6 separate regions of the Homo sapiens genome follow, and all the other regions are linked to region 3. The links are contacts of gene promoters, found by promoter capture Hi-C in blood cells and fetal thymus (Javierre and others, 2016). All regions are on one chromosome and are shown on one strand. The core of a region is centred on a gene start or on the middle of the fragment in contact, and the rest is flanking DNA. Distances in the headings are between cores, read along the strand shown.

Evidence for each region. The method cuts DNA at HindIII sites, captures the fragments that hold promoters and counts their contacts. A CHiCAGO score of 5 or more calls a contact.
Region 1: a contact is called between the fragment with the promoter of FBXO33 here and the fragment with the promoter of RALGAPA1 in region 3, in 3 of 17 cell types (total B cells, naive B cells and total CD4 T cells). The highest score is 14.7, in total B cells.
Region 2: the fragment with the promoter of HECTD1 here is called in contact with the fragment with the promoter of RALGAPA1 in region 3 in 4 of 17 cell types (non-activated CD4 T cells, total B cells, naive CD4 T cells and 1 more); the score reaches 10.8 in non-activated CD4 T cells.
Region 4: the fragment with the promoter of TRAPPC6B here is called in contact with the fragment with the promoter of RALGAPA1 in region 3 in 9 of 17 cell types (total B cells, total CD4 T cells, naive B cells and 6 more); the score reaches 15.5 in total B cells.
Region 5: a contact is called between the fragment with the promoter of ARHGAP5-AS1 here and the fragment with the promoter of RALGAPA1 in region 3, in 4 of 17 cell types (activated CD4 T cells, fetal thymus, naive CD8 T cells and 1 more). The highest score is 13.2, in activated CD4 T cells.
Region 6: the fragment with the promoter of DTD2 here is called in contact with the fragment with the promoter of RALGAPA1 in region 3 in 3 of 17 cell types (fetal thymus, total B cells and naive CD4 T cells); the score reaches 14.5 in fetal thymus.

The regions. Positions count from the first base shown.
Region 1 is chr14:39,430,915-39,434,346 of GRCh38, reverse strand. It overlaps FBXO33 (F-box protein 33), which reads left to right and starts at 1,914. Exons shown (of 4, transcript NM_203301.4): 1 at 1,914-2,783. The coding sequence starts at 2,185. LOC105370461 (a long non-coding RNA gene) reads right to left here and starts at 1,908. Exons shown (of 8, transcript XR_007064121.1): 1 at 1,828-1,908. RefSeq lists silencers at 1,316-1,485, 2,226-2,355, 2,796-2,925 and an enhancer at 1,876-2,125. The HindIII fragment of the contact is 7,836 bases long and covers 1-3,432 here.
Region 2 is chr14:31,206,301-31,209,627 of GRCh38, reverse strand. It overlaps HECTD1 (HECT domain E3 ubiquitin protein ligase 1), which reads left to right and starts at 1,835. Exons shown (of 43, transcript NM_015382.4): 1 at 1,835-2,612. RefSeq lists enhancers at 894-1,405, 1,259-1,428, 1,406-1,917, 2,430-2,943 and silencers at 1,609-1,948, 2,249-2,458, 2,579-2,788. The HindIII fragment of the contact is 4,913 bases long and covers 1-3,327 here.
Region 3 is chr14:35,807,608-35,810,879 of GRCh38, reverse strand. RALGAPA1 (Ral GTPase activating protein catalytic subunit alpha 1) reads left to right here and starts at 1,585. Exons shown (of 42, transcript NM_001346249.2): 1 at 1,585-2,150. The coding sequence starts at 2,045. RefSeq lists enhancers at 1,439-1,538, 1,375-1,935 and a silencer at 1,619-1,858. The HindIII fragment of the contact is 1,366 bases long and covers 269-1,634 here.
Region 4 is chr14:39,168,548-39,171,684 of GRCh38, reverse strand. TRAPPC6B (trafficking protein particle complex subunit 6B) reads left to right here and starts at 1,352. Exons shown (of 6, transcript NM_001079537.2): 1 at 1,352-1,670. The coding sequence starts at 1,590. RefSeq lists enhancers at 125-714, 1,496-1,545, 1,305-1,894. The HindIII fragment of the contact is 6,900 bases long and covers 1-1,571 here.
Region 5 is chr14:32,075,220-32,078,459 of GRCh38, reverse strand. It overlaps ARHGAP5-AS1 (ARHGAP5 antisense RNA 1 (head to head)), which reads left to right and starts at 1,761. Exons shown (of 1, transcript NR_027263.1): 1 at 1,761-3,041. It overlaps ARHGAP5 (Rho GTPase activating protein 5), which reads right to left and starts at 1,156. Exons shown (of 7, transcript NM_001030055.2): 1 at 1,025-1,156. RefSeq lists silencers at 803-1,097, 896-1,115, 1,476-1,735. The HindIII fragment of the contact is 3,747 bases long and covers 455-3,240 here.
Region 6 is chr14:31,455,765-31,458,955 of GRCh38, reverse strand. DTD2 (D-aminoacyl-tRNA deacylase 2) reads left to right here and starts at 1,450. Exons shown (of 3, transcript NM_080664.3): 1 at 1,450-1,673. The coding sequence starts at 1,563. RefSeq lists enhancers at 1,286-1,465, 1,606-1,815, 1,260-1,845, 1,846-2,431. The HindIII fragment of the contact is 653 bases long and covers 1,361-2,013 here.

The sequences.
Region 1 (3,432 bases), core at 665-3,164, 3.6 Mb before region 3:
ATTGGAATTCACTGATTTATTATTGAAACTGGGCAAGATTCACAGCTAATTCTTTAGCTTACAGTTGTTAAAATAGGATTCCTACCACACTTCATTTAAGAAGAAAGTTTGAAATTCTAAAATAATGAATTTCATTTATGGCAGACTGACATATTTTCATTTTACTCAGGAACCATTCCTAATAATTAAAGACTAATTATTAATGATCTCCAAGATGGTAGCTTGTTGCTAGCAAAATGCTAAGAAAAAAATATCAATCTCAAATTACAGTGCATTTCTAGAATATTAAAAAAAAAAAAGTCAGAGAACTGGAAACCCTCATACATGGCTGGTGGGAATGAAAAATGATGCAGCCACTTTGGAAAAAGTTTCCGTTTCTCAAAAAGTTATACATAGAACTACCCTACGACCCATCACTTTCATTCCTAGGTATCTACCCAAGACAAATTAAAACATACGTCCACATAAAGACTTGCACATGAATGTTCACAGCATTATTCATAACTCGAAACGACCTAAATGTCTGTAAACTGGTAAATGGGTAGTGTTTCATCCTGCCGAACCCACGACTGGGGTCGCCCTCTAAGAGTTCATTAAAATTAATAAGGTATAATTACCTAAAACTCTTGTAAACAGGGGCTCGAATAAGTAACCTATCACAATTGATAAACCACACCATGTTGTTGGCAACCTGATATGTGCAAGGCATTAAACGGAGAGCTTTGCCCTCAAAGGGTTAAGAACATCTAGAATGGGGGTCTCCTCTTTCGTCTTGGGAGCCCCCTCCGTCTGTCTCTGTAGTGGGGAGCTTCTTCCTTCAGCCTTCTTCCTTCTTTCTTGCCTATTAAATTCTCCGCTCCTTAAAACCAAAAAAAAAAAAAAAAGTCCAAAAAGTCTTGGTGTTTACCACAAAAGAACGATGCTATTCCAACATCACAGCCTCCCTAAAGCAACTCTCAATTATTACATAAAGAGGCAGCCTCCCTAAAGCAACCCTCGATTATTACATAAAGTCACTTAATCTTTTCTGACTTCACCACTCTTTGCAACCAGAGTTTACTTTGCAGTAGGCTGTGGTGAAGTTAGGGACATGGTTTGGAAAATCTAAGTTAGGGATACCAGGCAAAAAAAGAAGAAGAAGAAAGAAAAAAAATCAAAGCTCTGTCATTACTGTGAACTTTTCAACGAGAGCCTTAAATCTCAGCACAGGGAAAAGAGACCCTTCCTCAAGCCCTGGAGAAGAGGCTGGTCACAACCTGCGGATCTCAGATCCCTTTGCCAATTTTTTTCTCTCCCTCTGAATCCAAAGGGTGACGCTGTCCTCACTGCTTCCCCACACACCAGCGAGTGCGCGGAAGTCCACCTGCGTGGTTGGACCGAGGGGGCAGGTCCATTCGCGGCCTCCGCCACGCCCCACACCGCCCCTCCCGGCACAGCCCGCCGGGGTTAGCCCGCCCGTCCGCCAGCTCCCTCTCAGCGGCGCAATCTCAGGAATTCTTAACCCTACTCTGGGCAGGTGGGATGGCTGAGAAAGACCCTGCATGCCGCCACTTTGGCTCAGGGTCCTCAGCCCAAACTGAGAAACGTTTTACAAAGAAGCGTGACGACCTTTCGCACTAAACCAGAGTACCGCCACCTCCATCGACCGAGCGCCAAAATTAACCGACTTACAGATGTGACTGGGCGCAGCGGCCACCGTAAGGCGTAAGGGGTGCCAAGTGCCGGTTCCAGTCCCGCCCAGCCCCGCCCCGCCCCGCCCCGCCCAGCCCCGCCCCGCCCCGCGGCCTGCGTGCGTCAGAGATCACGTGCCGCGCCTCCCGTCCCTACAGGCAATCGGGCGCTCCCCTCTTCCGGAAGTCGCGCCGGTGCGCGCCGGACTCCTCCCACCAGCGGCGACGTCAAACTCAGCTCCTACCACTTCTCTGTCTCTGCCGACCGGCGCAGGGAGGGCTGCCTTTTCCTTACAGTACGCCTTGAGGCTTCCGGGCCGCTGAAGTTTACGAGCGAGGGCAGTGCAGTTACTCAGTGTGCCGGCCTCGGACGCACGTGAGTAGAGTTTGAGAAGACAGAGGCTGGCTCCCGGCAGGCCACGCCCGCAGAGGCCTTTCCCCCTCTCCACAACTTGTGTTCTACTTGGTTCCGCCGAGACCCACGACGGTTCCGCCCCCTTCTTCCTAGTCATTGATGTTGTTGTTCTTGTCAGTGCCGCAGCCCCGACCGCCGGGAGCTCGAACCCGAGCCGGGGCCGCCCGGGTGGCGCGGTGGCGGCGGCTGCGGCTGCAGCAGCTGCGACGGCTGCGGGGGCTGCTCCGGGTACTGCGGGGGCGGCCGGGAGCCGGCAGCCGGCGGCGGGGCCGGATGGCTCTGTGCGGGCAGGCGGCGGGCGCTGCGTCGCTGCCCAGCGAGCTGATCGTGCACATCTTCTCTTTTCTGCCGGCGCCCGACCGGCTGCGGGCCTCGGCCTCCTGCTCGCACTGGCGTGAGTGCCTCTTCTATCCGGCCCTGTGGCCCCAGCTCCGCATCTGCCTCCGCGTCTCGCCCGCGGAGCAGCCTCGGCTGGAATTCCTCATGCGCAAGTGCGGCTGGTTCGTGCGAGAGCTGCGTGTTGAATTCGCCGCCGAGAACTATCTGAGCGGCGGTGGCCCAGGGGACGGAGGTGGCGCGGACACCGGGACTGGAGGGGAGGAAGTCGAGGCCCTGCAGCTCTCAGCTCGTTGGCTGGAAGTGCTGCGCACCTACTTGGAGCTGGTGCTTTGCGTGCTGGTCAGCATCCGGAACAACAGGTAGGCTTGCCCTGAGCCCCGCCCCGCCCGGTAACGGGGGGTCGCTCCGTCCCCGCACCCCGACACAGATTCTGTGCATAATACGTGCCCGGCCAACTTCAGTGTTGCCTTCCTCAGTGACGGAGAGTGTTGGTTCTAACTAGGCGGTTTCCTTGAGCGGAAAGGCATAACGGGACTCATCACGATACTTTATAAACAGTGGTGGACGGGGTGTTTAACAGACACCACTTCTGGCGCCTTCCAGGCACTCATTCATCCTCTTGGTGGCCGTGGGATGGAGCTGACAGGCGCTGTCACTTTTCATTTTATATATGGGAGCGTTAAGACTGGGAGGGTGAGGCCTGTGGGTGAGCCTTGGAAGAAACAAAACATACACATAACACGATTTTCTGACTCTGAATCTGTTAGAAATAGTTCATGGTGAGGGAAGGAGTAGGTACTCATAGGACGCTGCCTAAAAGAAATTTTGTAACAGCCATTTTCTTACCAGAAATAGTTTCGGCTAACTGAACAAGGCCCGAAGAGGAGGAGGAGTGTTTGTTAAAGGGATTGGGGAAGAAGTTGATCTTCAGGGTTGAAAGTCCCTCCCCATACACCACCACACTCAACTTCTCCCCAGTAGTTCACCTAAAAGTAACAGTCGGGCGGA
Region 2 (3,327 bases), core at 586-3,085, 4.6 Mb after region 3:
GAGCCTGGACGGAAATTTTTAAGTTAATCATTTAAATTCTGATATATCTTCTTTCAAAAATTATTTTTAGATTTCTTCCCCATTCATATTGCCAATAACTAGACTTTTCTTTCCTCCATTATTGCAGCATTTCGACAACCTCCAGCTAGTCTCGTCTAGATAGATCCTTTTAGTCGTTCTAGACACTTTCCATAATTAGTCTTCTTAAGACTAGTTTTTCCAGTGTTGTAGTCCAGAACTTGCTACTTAGCTCAGCCTAATTTCTGCATTCCTCATTCAAGGCCTTCCCCACTTTAGCTCCAAATTTCTCTCTCTGTTGCTTACTGTTGGTTCTTTGCTGGGGGCACAGGTGACCTTTCCTATGTCTAGGAACATATCAGGCTTTATGTTCTTCCCTTTCCTTTCAGTGTCTACATTGTACCCATTCTTCAAGGTCCAGAGGGAATGCCACTTCCTTCTTGAAGTTTCCTGGCAGCTCCAATTCACACTCATGACATCTAAATAATTATCCTCATGTGTTGTACTTGGGACAAAATAGTTGAATCCTCTTTTTCCTCTTGTTTCGTTAACAGGATACCTAAACGGACCATTACCTGCGACAACGGGACATGCGCGGATAGCTATCTGAAGTACAAATTTGTCATTTCCAAAATACTGGTTCTTTTTCTAAAGAAGTAGTAAAAAAGAAAGAAAAAAAAGAACCAGTATTTTGGAAATGACAAATTTGCTTAGTCGCCCAGGCTGGAGTGAGGTGGCATTATCAAAGCTCACTGCAGCCTCAATTTCTTGGGCTCGAGGGATCATCCCATCTCAACCGCTCCAGTAGCTGGGACCATAGGTGTGCGTCACCGCATCTGGGTAATTATTTTTTAAATTTTAATTTTTTTGCAGAGACCAGGTCTATGTTGCTCAGGCTGGTCTCGAACTCCGGGCCTCAAGAGAGTAAAATCATAAAGTGCTGGGATTACAGGAAACGCAGCGGACCCAAATTCTGTTCTTTACTCATACCTAGCAGCTCCTCTGGTTGCCTGAGGGACCATGTCTCAAACACTATCATGTCGTATTAATTTTTCTTTTTGTTTAAAAGCTGAAAGTGAGAGTACAGTAGGACGTCTCCGGGCTCCAACTACGTCCTATAAGCATGCATCCTTTATTCTGAATGCGTGTGAAATAAAGTTTGAAAAGAATAACCACAGACATACTTGTGACCACAAGCCACAAGAAACGTAGTCAAAAGTGCACTCTCAGTGCTGCTGCCGACCGGGCACGGCGCTGGGCCTGCATTTGCGCTTTCCTGGAGCCTCAGTGTCTCATCTGTACAACGTTGATAATCGTCGGCAGCACCTCTTTCCCAGGGTTGCTCTGAAGGGTTTTCTTTGGGGTGAACCGCCAGGCGGTCGGCCTCCCAGGAGCGGGGGGAGACGCCTTCCTTACGCGACGCACTTCCGTGCGCGAGGAGGGAAGATCGTGGCTGAGTGCGGGTGGCCTGGGCGGAAGGCTCAGCGGGGACAGGTTGGGCCGCAGCTTTGCTGTGCTGTGCCGTGCGACGCCCTCCGCAGGAGCGCGCAAAGTGTTAGCCACGGCGCCAAGCAAGCTGGACGTGCGTGCATGAGCGCGCTCGGACTGACAGGGAAGCGAAAAGGGGGCCAGGGCGCACCATAGAAAAGCCGCGGCAGAAACGTACGACACAGCCCGAGGCGGCGGGGGCGAGAGCTCCGGGGCAGGGACGGCGACGCGGCGTACCCGGTTTGGCGCCCCTGCGCGGCGGTCGGCCGTCCCGCAGCGCCCCAGGTGGCCGCCGGCGGGGTCGCCGCCGGGGGAGTGGATTTGCTCCGCCTCCGCCGGGCTCGGCTGCCCTCGGCAGCTTCCCCGCCTGGCTCTCCCTCGACCCTCCTCCCCTCCCCCTCCCGGTTCGCGATGGACTGGGCCTCCCCGCCGCGCCGCCGCCGCCGTCGCCCGCAGCACCGCGCGGGCCTCTGAGTTGCAGGGCCTGAGGAGCCGCGTGCTGGGGACTGGACGTCCGCTGGCTGCTGCCGCACGCGAGAACCTCTCGCTTCCCTGTCACCAGGTCCTCGCGGAGGAAGGGGAGGGACGAGGCGCGGCTTTTCCTGTGCCGCCTGCCCGGTTCGACCTGCGCGGCCTGCGGCTTCTTGGGAACTCTAGGGCCGCGGCCGGGCCTGGCTCTGCCGGCGGCCTGTTGGGAGCTGGATCGGAGCGGTTTGGAACGACAAGCCCGAGTAAGAGCCTGCGGGAAGGGGAGGCGGGAGCGCCTCGGACCGTCGGAAGGGCCCTGCGTGGGGGCGCGGATCCCGGACGCCCGGCGAGTGGCGGAAAGCGAGACCCCGGCGCCGAGTGAGGTCGGCCAGGCTGCTGCCGACTTCCCCGCTGGCCCCTTTGTTCCCCTCCCGGGGCCCTGCCGGCGGCGGGGCCCGGTTGCCCGCGCCAGAGCCTCAGGCCGGCTCCTTTTGCCCTTGAGAAGGGTTCGCTGCCAGGCCTTCGAGTTCCGGGCGCAGCTCCCGGGAGAGCCGGCGCCCTGCCTGGCCCGGCGGCCTCCTCTCGGGCACGAAGGCTTGCTGCTGCTTCTCCAGAACTTCCCTTCCTCGTAGACACAGGTAGTTAACTTAGCGGGGTTTGGTGCTGGGGAACCACAGCGCGGGGGCCAGCGCCTCTCAGCGCCCGGCTCGGCCGGGCCCCGGGTGTGGGGTCAACCCCGCTGGTCGCCGCCGTTGGGTGCCCACCGCGCCCCGCCGCCGGCTTCCCACACTTGCGGCTGCGTTACGTGGGACCCAAAGCTGTCCTCCAGTCAGGGCGCTTACGGGGCGCTTTTGTAATGACTTACCTGTTGGGGTTGCTTCTCGGTTTTGTTTTTGTTTTTTTAACCAACTGCCCTATCTTGTGAAGCTGGGGAAAGAGGGCCCTAGGTTGGCCTACATTCGTTCGGATCCGTAACCTGCTGGTCCATTGCATTTACTTTTAGCCTTTCCTTTTTTAATTTTTTTATTTTTTTAACTTTTAAGAATAGTTGCCAAGACTGCCAAAATTCCTAACCAACTCTTTATTCATAGATAAATCTTGTATATAATTGTCGTTTGTATTTGGATATCTTTAAAATAGAAGTAAATTGAGAAGTCAGCAGAATATGTGAAATTGGAGGTAATTTTGAAGGAGAAACAATTTGGAGGGGGATTGGATCAAGGTGTTTAGAGTTTCCTCAAAATACTGAATCTAACCCTTATCTGAAGATCAGTTTTGGGTAGAGAAGGAGGGGGATGAAGTTTGCTGGAAAAAACAGAACCTTTAGTTAGGTGTTCTTTGCCTTTTGGCATA
Region 3 (3,272 bases), core at 336-2,835:
TACAAATGAGGAAAATCAGGCTGAGACTGAACTACATGCCAAGGGCCCGAGAGCAAGTAAGTCCTTGCAAGTGAAAAACAGAATGTCTAATTTAGGTCTATGTAATTCTAAAGATCATGCTTGAAAACATTGTATTATTGCCTAAATTTCACGAAACTGTGAGGGACAGACCTTATTTTGATTTTATTAATAAGAAAACTGATGCTGAGAGGAACTAGAACTAAAATCTCTTGAACAATCCCCTTATTTTTCTATTATGTTATAAGCTTCCTCAAAACATGTATGGCTTGTAAGTTTGATGATACAAACAAACCCTACATGTAGAAACTGAATAAATTTTTTGTACTTTAAAAAATATAGGATTGTTGTTGAAACAAACTACCATTAAGCAAAGCACTATATTTTAACATAATTTTGGCAAATGTCTTACATCTCTCTTCTTTGCTGATTTTGTTATTTTTCTATGTTAATCACATATTTCATTGGACAAGTCTATTGCTATGGGTGAGAACATAGAAGGAAACAGTTCAAACAAGCAAACTCACTCTTTATCAAATTATTTTGTGGAGGAAATGTTCCTGGCCAGGCGCAGTGGCCTCACGCCTGTAATCCCAGCAGTTTGGTAGGCTGAGGCGGGCGGATCACTTGAGTCTAGGAGTTTTAGACCAGTTTGGGCAAAATGGCGAAACCCCGTCTCTACAAAAAACACAAAAATTAGCTGGATGTGGTGGCGCGCACCTGTGGTCCCAGCTACTCGGTAGGCTGAGGTGGGAGCATCACCTGAGCCTGGGAGTTCGAGGCTTCAGTGAGCTGAGATCACACCACTGCACTTCTGCCTGGGACACAGAGACCCTGTCTGGAAAGAAAAGGAAAAAGGAAAAAAAAAAAAAGGGTTCCAATAAAAATTTCAATTTATGTCATTCAGAATTTCACGGATTTTTTTCAGCTATTGCAGATTCTTCAGATGACTCCATCAATGTAATAAGAACCTTGAATTCTTCTTTGCAGAGGAAAAACTGACAATATATTCATCTTTATGTGGGGTGCAGATGGGGAAAAGATTTTTAAAAGCACAATAGAAAAGGAAAGCAAGATTACTTTTATTTAAAAAACCTAGATACCTCTGCTTAAGCCTTTCTGTTGTCAAGTTGTTTGCAGCAAAAAACAGGGATATTGCAAATAGAAAAAATATGAAAGAAATCACATACATAGTGCAGGAAATATTATTAGTAATAGATTTAGGACAGAATAAATTGCCCAACTGTAACTTCGTTTATCTTTCTGCTAGAGGATCTGGTGGCCACAACAACTTATGCACATTTTCAAAGATAAATCATGGACATATTTAATAAAGATTACTTCTCTTTGCTTATTACTATCATTTGGCTTACAATGGAGCACGCAGTAACTACCTTCCTTGCCTTTCTTGAGATTCTCCTTTGGCTGCTTACACAGGAAACCAAGGCGGGGAGTGCCACGGGTGATCTCATGCTGGCATGACGTCAAGAACTCTTGACGTCAGAAGGCGGTTGCCACGGACACCGTTCGCCACCGACGGCAGAGTCGTGAAACCCCATCACTACCACACTCGTCTCCGTTTCGGCCTCTGCAGGGTGTAAGCTGCTAAAGAAGCTTCAACCTTAAGGGGGCCTCAGGGAGAGAGTTGTGCTCCTGCCGCCGAGAGCTCCACCTTCGTGGCTCTGGGTCCGGGGCCCCGGCCTGTGGCGGCGAGCGGCGGCCGCTGGAGACGAGCGGCGGCGGCAGGCGGCCAGCCCGGGTCTGCCTCGCTCCGTGCAGGGCCGGGAGAGGGATCCGCCATATTGGAGCTGGGGCCGAAGGTGCCTTGGAGCCGCGGCGCGAGGCGGGTGGAGGTGGCGGCCCTGGCCTGGATCGGGAAGGAGTCGGCTCTGCCCTGGCCCGCAAGGCTGGGGAGCTAATGAGCCTCTCTGGCTAGTCTCCTCCCCGTCCACTCCCTCCACTTTCTGCCGCCGGGACCCGGCTGGGAGCCGGCTGTGGCAGTGGCAGTGGCAGTGGCAGCGACAGGATGTTCTCCAAGAAGCCGCACGGGGACGTGAAGAAGTCCACCCAGAAGGTGCTAGACACCAAGAAGGACGCACTGACTCGCCTCAAGCACCTGCGCATCGTCATCGGTGAGGAGCGAGGGGTGGCAGCGCCGAGGCCTGGGTTGCCCGGCCTTCCCTCTCCTGGGAGCCCCTGCGGACTCTCTCTCGGGACCTGGCGCGGTGCAGGAGAGGGCAAATCGTAGCCTCTGCGGAGACGCGGGAGGGTGAATAATTCGGAGAAGCGAAAACTTGGCAGTTGGCAGCACTGATTACTGTTAACACAGTAATCTAATTTTGAGTTAATAGTCTGAACTTATTTTTTAAAATTGGTATTACTCTAAAAACTTAGATCTTTAAGACTTTGTGGGGAGACCTGGCGTTGTGGATAATGGTGTTTATAGGATATGTTTGCCAGATGACTACTGCCAACCCCACCCAAGTAAAAAGAAAAATAAAATCCTCTCTCAGACAATATAAACCTTAATCTTTCAAGTTTCTTGGCAGATGAAGACAAGGAGGTAGCAGTTACACCTCTTTGGGAAGTGGGCGGTTCCCAAAAAGCTGTGGGAAGGAGCCCCGCCCTTTTGTTAATGCACCTTGTTCATCACTAGTCATTTAGAGGGAGAACTATTATAGGTAGTTTAACTCATCCTTTGCTTCTCGAGAATTGTATATAATTCTATTTTTAATTAAAAATATTTTTTTTATCGTCTGCCCTTAAGTTCTGTTTTGCTGGTAGACCAAACAGTGCTCTAAGTTTTGAATATAATGTTAATCGACTCTTTTGAATACTTAGTCATTTGGTAGGCTGATAAAGGCTGTAATAATACTTATGGAACATCTGGTCCAGTAGTTGGATTTTTTAGATGAAGACATTTGAGATGAAAAGGAAAATTATTTCGCCTGTGTTGATACTTAGAGTTAATGGTGGAACTGGCTGAAGAAGATGCATTCATCCAGATGCCTGAATCCTAGTTCAGAGTTTATCTCGAGCTGTCCTCCTGATGCGTATTTGTTTTGGAAAGTGATGTTTATTTAGTGAAAAAAGTAAGTCCCTTATTTGAGGTACATGTTTCTCTAGTCTATTGTTTACTCATACCACCAGGATACCACCAATATTACCCAACATTTCTATGATGCTTTACTGTTTACAGTGATTTCACGTAAATTATGATAATCCTTGCAATAACTCTATAGGTAGATGATATT
Region 4 (3,137 bases), core at 103-2,602, 3.4 Mb before region 3:
GCTCGCTGCAACCTCTGCCTCCCAGGTTCAAGTGATTCTCCTGCCTCAGCCCCCCGAGTAGCTGGGATTACAGGCACCTGTCACCACGCCCGGCTAATTTTTGTATTTTTAGTGGAGACGGGTTTTCACCATGTTGGCCAGGCTGCTCTCAAAACTCATGACCTCGTGATCCCCCCCACCCCCCGTGCCTCGGCCTCCCAAAGTGCTGGATTTTACAGGCATGAGCCACCTTGCGGTATGTTAATTTGGGGGAAAACAACAGGGACAATTGGGGAAAAATTTTGTTTTGTGAATTACCAATGGAAGAACTAATCACAGGCTAAGCAACATGCTTACGGTTGAATTTGCCAAATTTAAGATGTACATACTATGATGTAGCATGTGTATTTATTTGCACATGCAGTGGGACAATTCCTACAGTTGTCTCACACTGCTGTAGATTATTAGCAACTCCATCCTGCAGTGACATCGCTTTTCTGAATTCTATAGCACTTTTCACCTAATCCTCTGATTAGTCTGTATTTTCCGGTTCAAGTGTATCTTGTTTTTCGTTTGCTCCACTTCCCTTGTCCCTTGCACCCCACTAACAGGAAAATTCCTGGTGGTCAAAATGGCTCTAATTCTTTTTGTATACCCGGGCTTAATTCAATAGGAATTGGGATAACTTTTCAATATTTAAAAAATTTGCACTGTGAAAACGTATATTTTAAACTCTTTCTACAACTTTTCATATTTGAAGAACATATGGCAGGAAGTGGATGCTTTTGATGAAGCCAAAAGAATTTTTTTAACTTCTATTGCTAATTAACAAGGAGGTGGCCGCGGGAGCTCTTTTTTTTTTTTTTTTTTTGAGACGGAGTTTCACTCTTGTTGCCCAGGCTGGAGTGCAGTGGCGCGATCTCAGCTCACCGCAACCTCCGCCTCCCGAGTTCAAGCGATTCTCCTGCCTCAGACTCCCGAGTAGCTGGGATTACAGGCATGCACCACCAGGCCCCGCTAATTTTGTACTTATAGTAGAGACGGGGTTTCTCAGGCTGGTTCGAACTTCCGACCTCATGTGATCCACCCGCCTCCGCCACCCAAAGTGCTGGGATTACAGGCGTGAGCCACCGCGCCCGGGCCAGGCGGGAGCTTTAGGTCTTATTTTATCTTGCTCTGCCCCCGACATCGTGGTGAGAGGGGAACCTTCCTCATATCTGGGCGCTGGCCTCTCCGGGCTTGGGAGAGAGGAACTCAGTGATCATAGAGCTGGCCGAATGCCGGGGTAGAGGGGACCGGAAGTTGTTTTTTTCGCCCCCGCCCAGCGGCCGGATCGCATCTCAGCTGGTTGGCTTTGGTTAGAGCTCCCGTCAGACTTTAGTTCGGCCCTAGGATTTGGTAGCCCCGAAGTGTGGGCTCTCTCCAGTACCAGACTCATTTCAGTACCAGCCTTTGGGAAGTCGTGTGAATACCTCGGTCTCTTAGCCACAGGGATAGAATGGCGGCCTGACGGAGCCGCGGCGCCGGCGAAGTCGCTGAGGCGCGAGCTGGAACCCCCAGACCAGCTCAAACGGGAGCCAAAACTCGAAGCTTGGAAGAATTAGCAGGAAATGGCGGATGAGGCGTTGTTTTTGCTTCTCCATAACGAGATGGTGTCTGGAGTGTACAAGTCCGCGGAGCAGGGGGAGGTGGTGAGTGCTGCCACACAACCTTGAGGTCCTTTTGCGGTGACACACCTTGTTTCCCCTCAGTGCTTTCCTTCAACCCCTGTCCCATCGCCACCCGACGCCTCCCGAGGTGTACACAAAATGGTCCACCTCCAGGTGTCCTAAACCCTAGAACCTGTCAGTTGTCTCCTTTGAACCGTCATCTTTCATCGTTTTCTCTTTCGTATCTTCTTCTATTTGATTCTCTTTTGTCTATTCCCGTACGTTTGTCTTGCACGCCACAGATTTTGGTACTTTTAGTGTTGTCCCTGCCATTATTTACGAGAGGGTTAACTGCAGAGCCTACTTAGTTTTGCTGGCACTTCCAGCACTTGAGCCATGCACTGGACAGACCTGTGCCAACCTGAGAAGCCTGTCCCTCCTTCCTCATTCCTAATGCTCAGTACAACTCCACACAACTTGAGACCTGAAGCCTAATGAAGGTTGAGTTTGCAAAGGAAAGTTTGCAGGCGTTAGGATAATTAGGGAACATAATTTAAATTAATTATTTCAGAAAGTATTTATTTAGTGCCCTTATGTCAGAGCGATTTCTAGGTGCCAGGGATATAGTAGTGAATGAAACAATGGCCCCATCCTTGTAGAGATTTTTTTTTAATCTAATTTAATCCGAAATGTGATAGTATGTAGCGGTTACTTCTAATATGTGGGAGTCCTTATTCAATCATTGTGGGCCTGTCACTGCTGACACTGCTAGATAAATTAAATAAAATAATACTCCTGCCTCACAGTATTTAGGGAATAGTGATTTAATGAATAGTTAACACTGAGTATTGGCTGGTAGAATCATGGAGTTGTAACGGATTTTAGAAATACTCCAAAGTCATGCTCAAGTCAGGAGCCCTTTCTTTAATGCTATTGATAAAAAATGAGTGGAGAGTGGGGATAGGAAATGTATCCTAGGCAAAGATAAAGTGGTAGAGGTATGAAAGAGTGGTGGATTTAAATACACTTAAGCATTTCTTTGGACTAGACTGAATAGAGAGTGAGAAGAATTGAGAGGTGAAGTTAGAAAGCTTTGTGTAATTAAAGAATTCGGATCTTTTCGAGGGAATATTTTTAAGGAAGGGAATGATGTGGACCATTTGCATTTTAGAAAAGTAATCCAGTGTTTGGGCTAGAGAGGGAAGATCCTTGTAGGGGGAAAATCCTTTATTACGGGAGTCACTGCAGGAGGAGATGAAGATCTGGATTAAGACAGGGATAGTGAGAAAAGGAGATAACAGATTTGAAAGTTAGAAAGTGGAATTCTGTAGGCCTTGTTTAAGGATGGGAGTGGGAGTTGAAAATTATCGTCAGGTTTTCAGCTTGAGCAGCTGGGTTGGATGGTGGTACTATTAATCAGAAAAGGAAATAAAGGAGAAGAAAAAAATAAGGAGGTAAGATAATGAGTTATTTCGGGGCAGGTTGAACTTTTGAGGTGCCTGTATGACA
Region 5 (3,240 bases), core at 512-3,011, 3.7 Mb after region 3:
AAACCCATCTATATGCCTATCTTGCTCTATCTCAAAATATTTGAATTCCCATTTATTAAGCGATGGCCAAATCCGAATTTCTATCACATGGTAGAAGTATAAGCGTCTCCCCTACAACTTTTTCGGGATTTTACTAAACGGCCTAATAACAGTTTGCCCTTACTTCCGTGCACCTTTCAACCTCAGCTACACCCCGAGCCTCCAGCTCTCTTGCATTTCTAATAACGCTGAAGAGGGAGGGTGAGAGGGAGTATTTCTGTGTGGATAAGTGCGCGCGCGCTCCCGCGCGGCTCCCCACCCCCACCCCGATACTTTTCTTTAGTGGAAAGAGAGGAAGAATCTGGAGGTTATTCTAGCGAAAACTCAGTATCAAAGCCTCAACCCAGTCGCAGTCAGCCCATAGGACTCTGGGCTCTGGATGCGCAGTGCAACTTCTCATATCTTACTCCAAGCTTCAAAGCAGATGGAAAATTGGTGAAGAGAACCCAGGGAGGAGTCGAGGAGATGAGGGAAAGTGAAAGGGCCGATCCCCCCTACAAGGCGTTTAAGTTTGCAACCGAGACTGTGTTTCCGCGAATCTGCACCCGCCCCGTGTACCCTTTCCAGGTGGAACTCGTTAACAGCAGCAACCCGGCCAACGGACACCGCCACCTCCCCTCTCGACGGACCACCCGAGACTCGAGCAAGTGAGGCGGCGGGCGAGAGCGGACGCCTGGCGGGGCCGGCGATCCCCGGCCAGCATCAGGCCTCCGCCGACCCTGGCCCCGTCACCTGTGGAGAAAGCACCCCCTCCCCCGGCCTCTCTGCCCTTCACGCCGAACGTATCCCTAACGCTGCAGCTGCTGCCCGCCCGGCCTGCGAAAACCGAGCGCAGCGCCAGGCTCCCCTCGGCGGCCGCGGGGCCCCAGCCCCTTCAACTGGTTACAACCGGCAGCGGCGACCGAGCGGGGCAGCTAGCCGCAGGAGGGTCCCCGTCCGGGAGGGGGCAGGCAGGCTTGGAGGAGCGGGGTCCGCAAGGTCCTACCTAACAACGTCGGTCTCCTCCGTCTCCTCCTCAACGGCAGCGGCCCCGGCGGTGGCGGCGGCAGCGACATTCCTGGGGACCGCTCCCGCCGCCGCCGCCTCCTCCTCCACTCTCCGCTCGCCTCTCTTCCTCGGCGCGCTCACCGAGCGGCGCGTCCCTTCAGCCACCTCCCCCCGCCCTCCCCGACACACACGCCCCGAAACCCTGAGCCCCACGGCTCCCGCAGCCAGCTCACCCACCCTCCCTCCCTCCCTCCCCGCCACCAGCGGCGGCCCGTCCCTCCCCCCTTCCCCAGCGCCCGCCGCCGCGCCGGGCTCAGTAATGGCGGCCACTCGGGCTCCCTCGCGCTGACGGATTTCTCTCCCTCTCTCCCGAACTTTACCTCAGCATCTCTCCCGGCGCGCGCAGCCACACACCCGACCGGGGGCGGAGCGGCGGCGCGGCGGCGCAGCCTGGACGGGACGCGCGCGCGCGCGCGAACCCGCGCTGCCCTCCCCACAATCCCCCGTCCCCGCCCCTTCACCTCGCGACGCCTCCCGCGCCGCGCACCCGGCACGGCCCCGCCCCTGCCCTCGTCTCCCGGGAGCCTGGGAAGGCGCGAGCTATCCAGTCGGAGGGAGGGGGACGAGCGCGCGGGGCCGCGTCCTCGCTCGCGTCCCCGCTCCCTCCTCCCCTCTGCTTCTCCCTCCCCTCCACTCCCCCATTGGCTTCTACCCCTCCCCCTTCTTCCTCCGCCTCTCCCACCATTGGTTCCCTCCCCTACTCCATTCCTTCTCACCTTTTCCCTTTTACCCATTGGCGTGAGTATTTTTCCTCAGCTTCCCTCTTTCTCCGTATTCTGCTCCTCCTCAGTCCCATCCTCCACGCTTTGGAAGCTACTGCCTTACTGCCCGGAGCGCCGTCGTCCCCGAACCTCCCCTGCTTCTCCCTTTCCTTCTGTTCCGGTTTCTGGTCGTAACTCAAGAGCAAACCACCGTACTGCAAAGGAACCAGATATTGTGCTCGCGGTTCCAAACCGGGCATGGGCACCGAATGCTTCTCGATAAATCCCCTTATGGTCTCTGAGCATTAAAGAAAGCAAGGGAGGAAAACATGCGCCCAAGCTCGTTCGCAGGAACATGTTCGCGTGTCTGCGCCTGTGTGCGCAGCCAGTTTTCTGGCTGAGGATCGCTCGCCAACTACAGACATCACCCGCCCAGGACCCGGTGCCACACTCACCCAGAAGACGAAACTCCACAGGAGCGAGAAGAGGAGTCCATTTCTCCGTCGGCTCGGCACGGCACGGGGATGCAGGCCCCTGATTCAGTACGTTCTGTGAAAGTGGAGCGAGAAGCCAAGACGTGGATCGAGAAGCCCCGTGGGGCGGGTCTCAGGGTGGCCCAAAAGACCCCTGTTCACGCCACTACCAGCCTAACTTTAGGAACTGTCGTCCACCTGGCTTTTATTATACTGCCTTAAACATATTCACTTTTTTGAGACTCTAGAAATTTCACAAGTTTTGGGGTAGAGCACACTGGGCTTTGGGTGTGTTTCTCATGAGGGCACTGACGCTGAATGGTGCAGTGAGAAAGGACGGTAGAAACCACTGCCTTTGCTTTTACCATTGAAGAAACTGAGGTCCTGTGACTTTCCCGAGGTCATCGGAATCTGCCTTGCACAGGAGACTTAAAATAGTTGCCAGCAGATAAAAGAATGAGCAAAACCACATCTACTCCAATTTGTTAAGTCTGAAAGAAAGTAATTGAGGGGGGATTCCTCTTTGGGGAAATATTTATTTCCTGCATTGAAAATAGTTTAATGTTAGTAAACATATAAAAAGTATTTTAAATTCAAGTTATTCTTTATTTCTTATGTTACATAAGGTACTGAAGTTAGCCAAGGTTGCTTTTGTGTTATAATGATGCAGCTGCTGCCAACCAGAAGTACATTTACGGTCTGTCAGTAAAGAAAACAAAAACTGCCTGTTGGTAAAAATCTATTAGAAAATATTTGTCAGTAAATTTGTCACAATATTCCAGCAGAAGTTCTGTTCGTTTTTCCGTCTTCCTGCCCTTCATATTTCTCAAAGGTAGACTTAATAAAGGTAGAAGAGACATTTCTAATTTTTCTATATATCTCTTGCTCCCTAATTTCTAAAAGGCATAACTAAAATGCTTTATTCGAGCCACTCCCTTGCATCTGAACCCTACCTACCAAGTAGGTTAAGAGTAGGTTAG
Region 6 (3,191 bases), core at 201-2,700, 4.4 Mb after region 3:
AATAAGTGAGCCACAGCCTATTACAGTACCTACAGCAATGTCCACGAGATCCTCACTCAATAGGAGGGTTTAAAGTAATTAGTGATTTTTGAGAAGCTAACCATTACCATCCATACTCCATCTATTCTACTCACAGGAAGGGTTTCCCAATTTGTTAAAGAAACCCTCTCTGTAGAAAGATCTCTGCGAACCACATAACCTATTCTCTATAGACCTCCCTATTTCCTGCAGCCACATACAAATGGACACCAAAGTCTTTTCTTATTCTGGGACATAGCTAATGGTTTGTATGTCAAAGTTTCTTTCAGGCCTGTAAAATCTGAATCTGAGAGCCGGAGAGAAAAGAGACTCAGTAGTTATAATGACATAAAGGTGCAGACATGAAGCAATTCAACTTGTCTGTGCTTTGCAGACAAATGTCAACAACTGTTGGAATCCCTGCAATGCAACAATCAGAGATCATGTGAGATTTTGCTTTCTGTTTTTACTAAAAGTGTAAACCTGGCTGCAAGATAACCAGCAAACAAGCAGCTTCGATTTTGTGTACAAAGGACTGTTGATTATGCATGGACTATTTTCTTCAGTCACACTACTTTGTATGGATAGCAACACTGTCAGTGATGTCATCTTTTTAAACAACAGATCCGAATGTATAGGCACATTGTGTCAACTGAGCCCAAATCAATGACCTGGGTAATGCAATCAGGGTAACACTATTATTCCTCATCTAAACCATCCAAGCCCATAGACAAATAAATGCTAATCTGATGCATGTTTAAGGAATACGTTACATGGGAAAGAAAATCAAGCCCTTGTTTAGTTTTATTTACATTCTAATATGTACTTCCAGAAAATGCATCACAGAATTTACGTCATATGCATCAGAATAAGCTGTTTTATTTTTGTATTAGTAGCGGGCTAAGTTATTAACAATCATACTTTCTTGGATAAGAACATTTTTAACAAGGATATCTTCTAAAGAATGTGTATTCGTATAGCATACCAATACCTTTTCACAACTGTGGAATCAGAATAATTTATGGCATTCCCGATAGAGGAGGCAGCATTGTTTTTATTGATTGGAATAAGGAAAATTTTGAAGGATGTATATATAGCTTTTAGTTCCATCTCCGCTTGCTTTATGATTCGATTATTTGTTTACTTACTTTCATATGGGCATAACATGAATTTAAATCAAGCAGATTTAAAATTTTTCAACAGTTGGAACCTAAGCTTTCTGAGGTGAAAAATGTTTCTTAAAAGGTTTGTAGGAAAGAGATTTAACGAGTCTTTTCAATCGTTTAATAAAAGTATACACTGAGCGCCTTCTACAGAGTTGGGCAGGTGCTGCCGAGAAGCTTAGCGCTACGCCGGCCTCCAAGACCGCACATCCGGGACATTCGAGAGTCAGTCCGAGGCCCCGCCCTCCTAAGGGCGGGGCCACTGGGCAATCGGCGCAGGCCCTTCGTCGTGCCCCGCCTCGTCTGCCCCGCCAGCGCGTCGAGGGAGGGGCCAGCGACACATGGCCTAGTAACTGTCCGGCCGCGGCGCTGGCTTAAGCCATGGCTGAGGGTAGCCGGATTCCTCAGGCCCGGGCGCTCCTACAGCAGTGCCTGCACGCCCGGCTGCAAATTCGCCCAGCCGATGGGGACGTCGCGGCCCAGTGGGTGGAGGTAACGTCAGCCCGGCAGCTCTCGTTATCCTCCGGCGTGCGGGGCGGTTTTTTCCGCGTTGTCTCGGTGACTCGTCCGCTCTGTGTCTCCCTCTGAGACCGGCGGTCCGGCCGCGGGGATACCGGGTCAGCTTGAAGCTGGCCGCGGTGGCCTGCCTGGCTGCGCTTGTCTTTTCGGTCCAGCATCACCGTTCCCCAGCGCCAGTTGTAGCACCCGAGAGGAAGAGCGTGTCTCCCTTCTTGGGGGGACCACAGGTATTTGAAACTGAGTTCGGTGAACTTCAGGCCTTACTGTCTCAGACCCCTTGCAGCTCGTGGTCTATGCTGGTCGGGGGCAAGCTTGTAGGTCAGGTTTGCTGCAAGAGTTCATGATCTGCTTTGACTTACGCCTCAGATCGCGTCGAATTCCCCCCTATGTTGACTTGGTCTTAGCATAGAAATGAGATTTCCTAAGAAACAATTCTATTTCAAGAAGCCTTTTAAAAGTTTTGACCAATTTCCAACTGAGAAACAAAGACCTCTACTTTTATAACAATGTTGCCTTATCAAACACATTTCTCCAAAGAATTTAAAACATTTATGTCACTATGAGTTCCTTCTACTTTCATACATACTTTACTTTTTAAGACCGCCTGCCCCCACTGCATACAAAAACAAATAAAATTTTCTTTAAGGCCTCTGACGTATTTTTGGAGTACGTTGAAATGTAAGAAAAAAATTAGTTCATAATTAAGACTTTTGTAGATACTCAGAAACTTCAGTGTAGCAAAATCTCATTCGCTCGCCTTTTCTGCTGAATTCGGTCCCAGATCTAGCATTACTTAAAACAATTTTAGTTATTATTTTACATTTATTTTATTTTTTATATTTTATTTATTTATATTTTATTTTATTTTTTGAGATGAATTCTCGATCTGTCGCCCAGGCTGGAGTGCAGTGGCACGATCTCGGCTCACTGCAACCTCCGCCTCCCGGGTTCAAGCAATTTTCCTTCCTCAGCCTCCCGAGTAGCTGGGACAACAGGCGCAAGCTACCACGCTAACTTGTATTTTTAGCAGAGACGGGGTTTCGCCATTTTGGCCAGGCTTGTCTGGAACTCCTGACCTCAGGTGATCCACCTGCCTCAGCCTCCCAAACTGCTGGGATTACAAGCCTGAGCCACCGCACCCCGCCTACTTATTGTAAATAGTACCCGTGAACTATATGATGTGTGGGTGATTATTCTAAAATCAGAATCTGTTGCCCTGTGCTAATTTGGAAATATAAGCATAGAAATTCCTGTATTCTTATCTCTCTCCTTTCCCAGAAATTCACTTTTCTTATTTCTTATTTTTGTCATGATTTTTTGTGAGGTCTTGATTTCCTTATTTGAAATTTTATTATTTTATTTTGCCATCCTATCTAAAGAATTAACCTGCCAGGCGCGGTAATCCCAGCACTTTGGGAGGCCAAGGCCGGCGGATCACTTGAGGTCAGGAGTTTGAGACCAGCCTGGCCAACATGTTGAAATCCCGTCTCT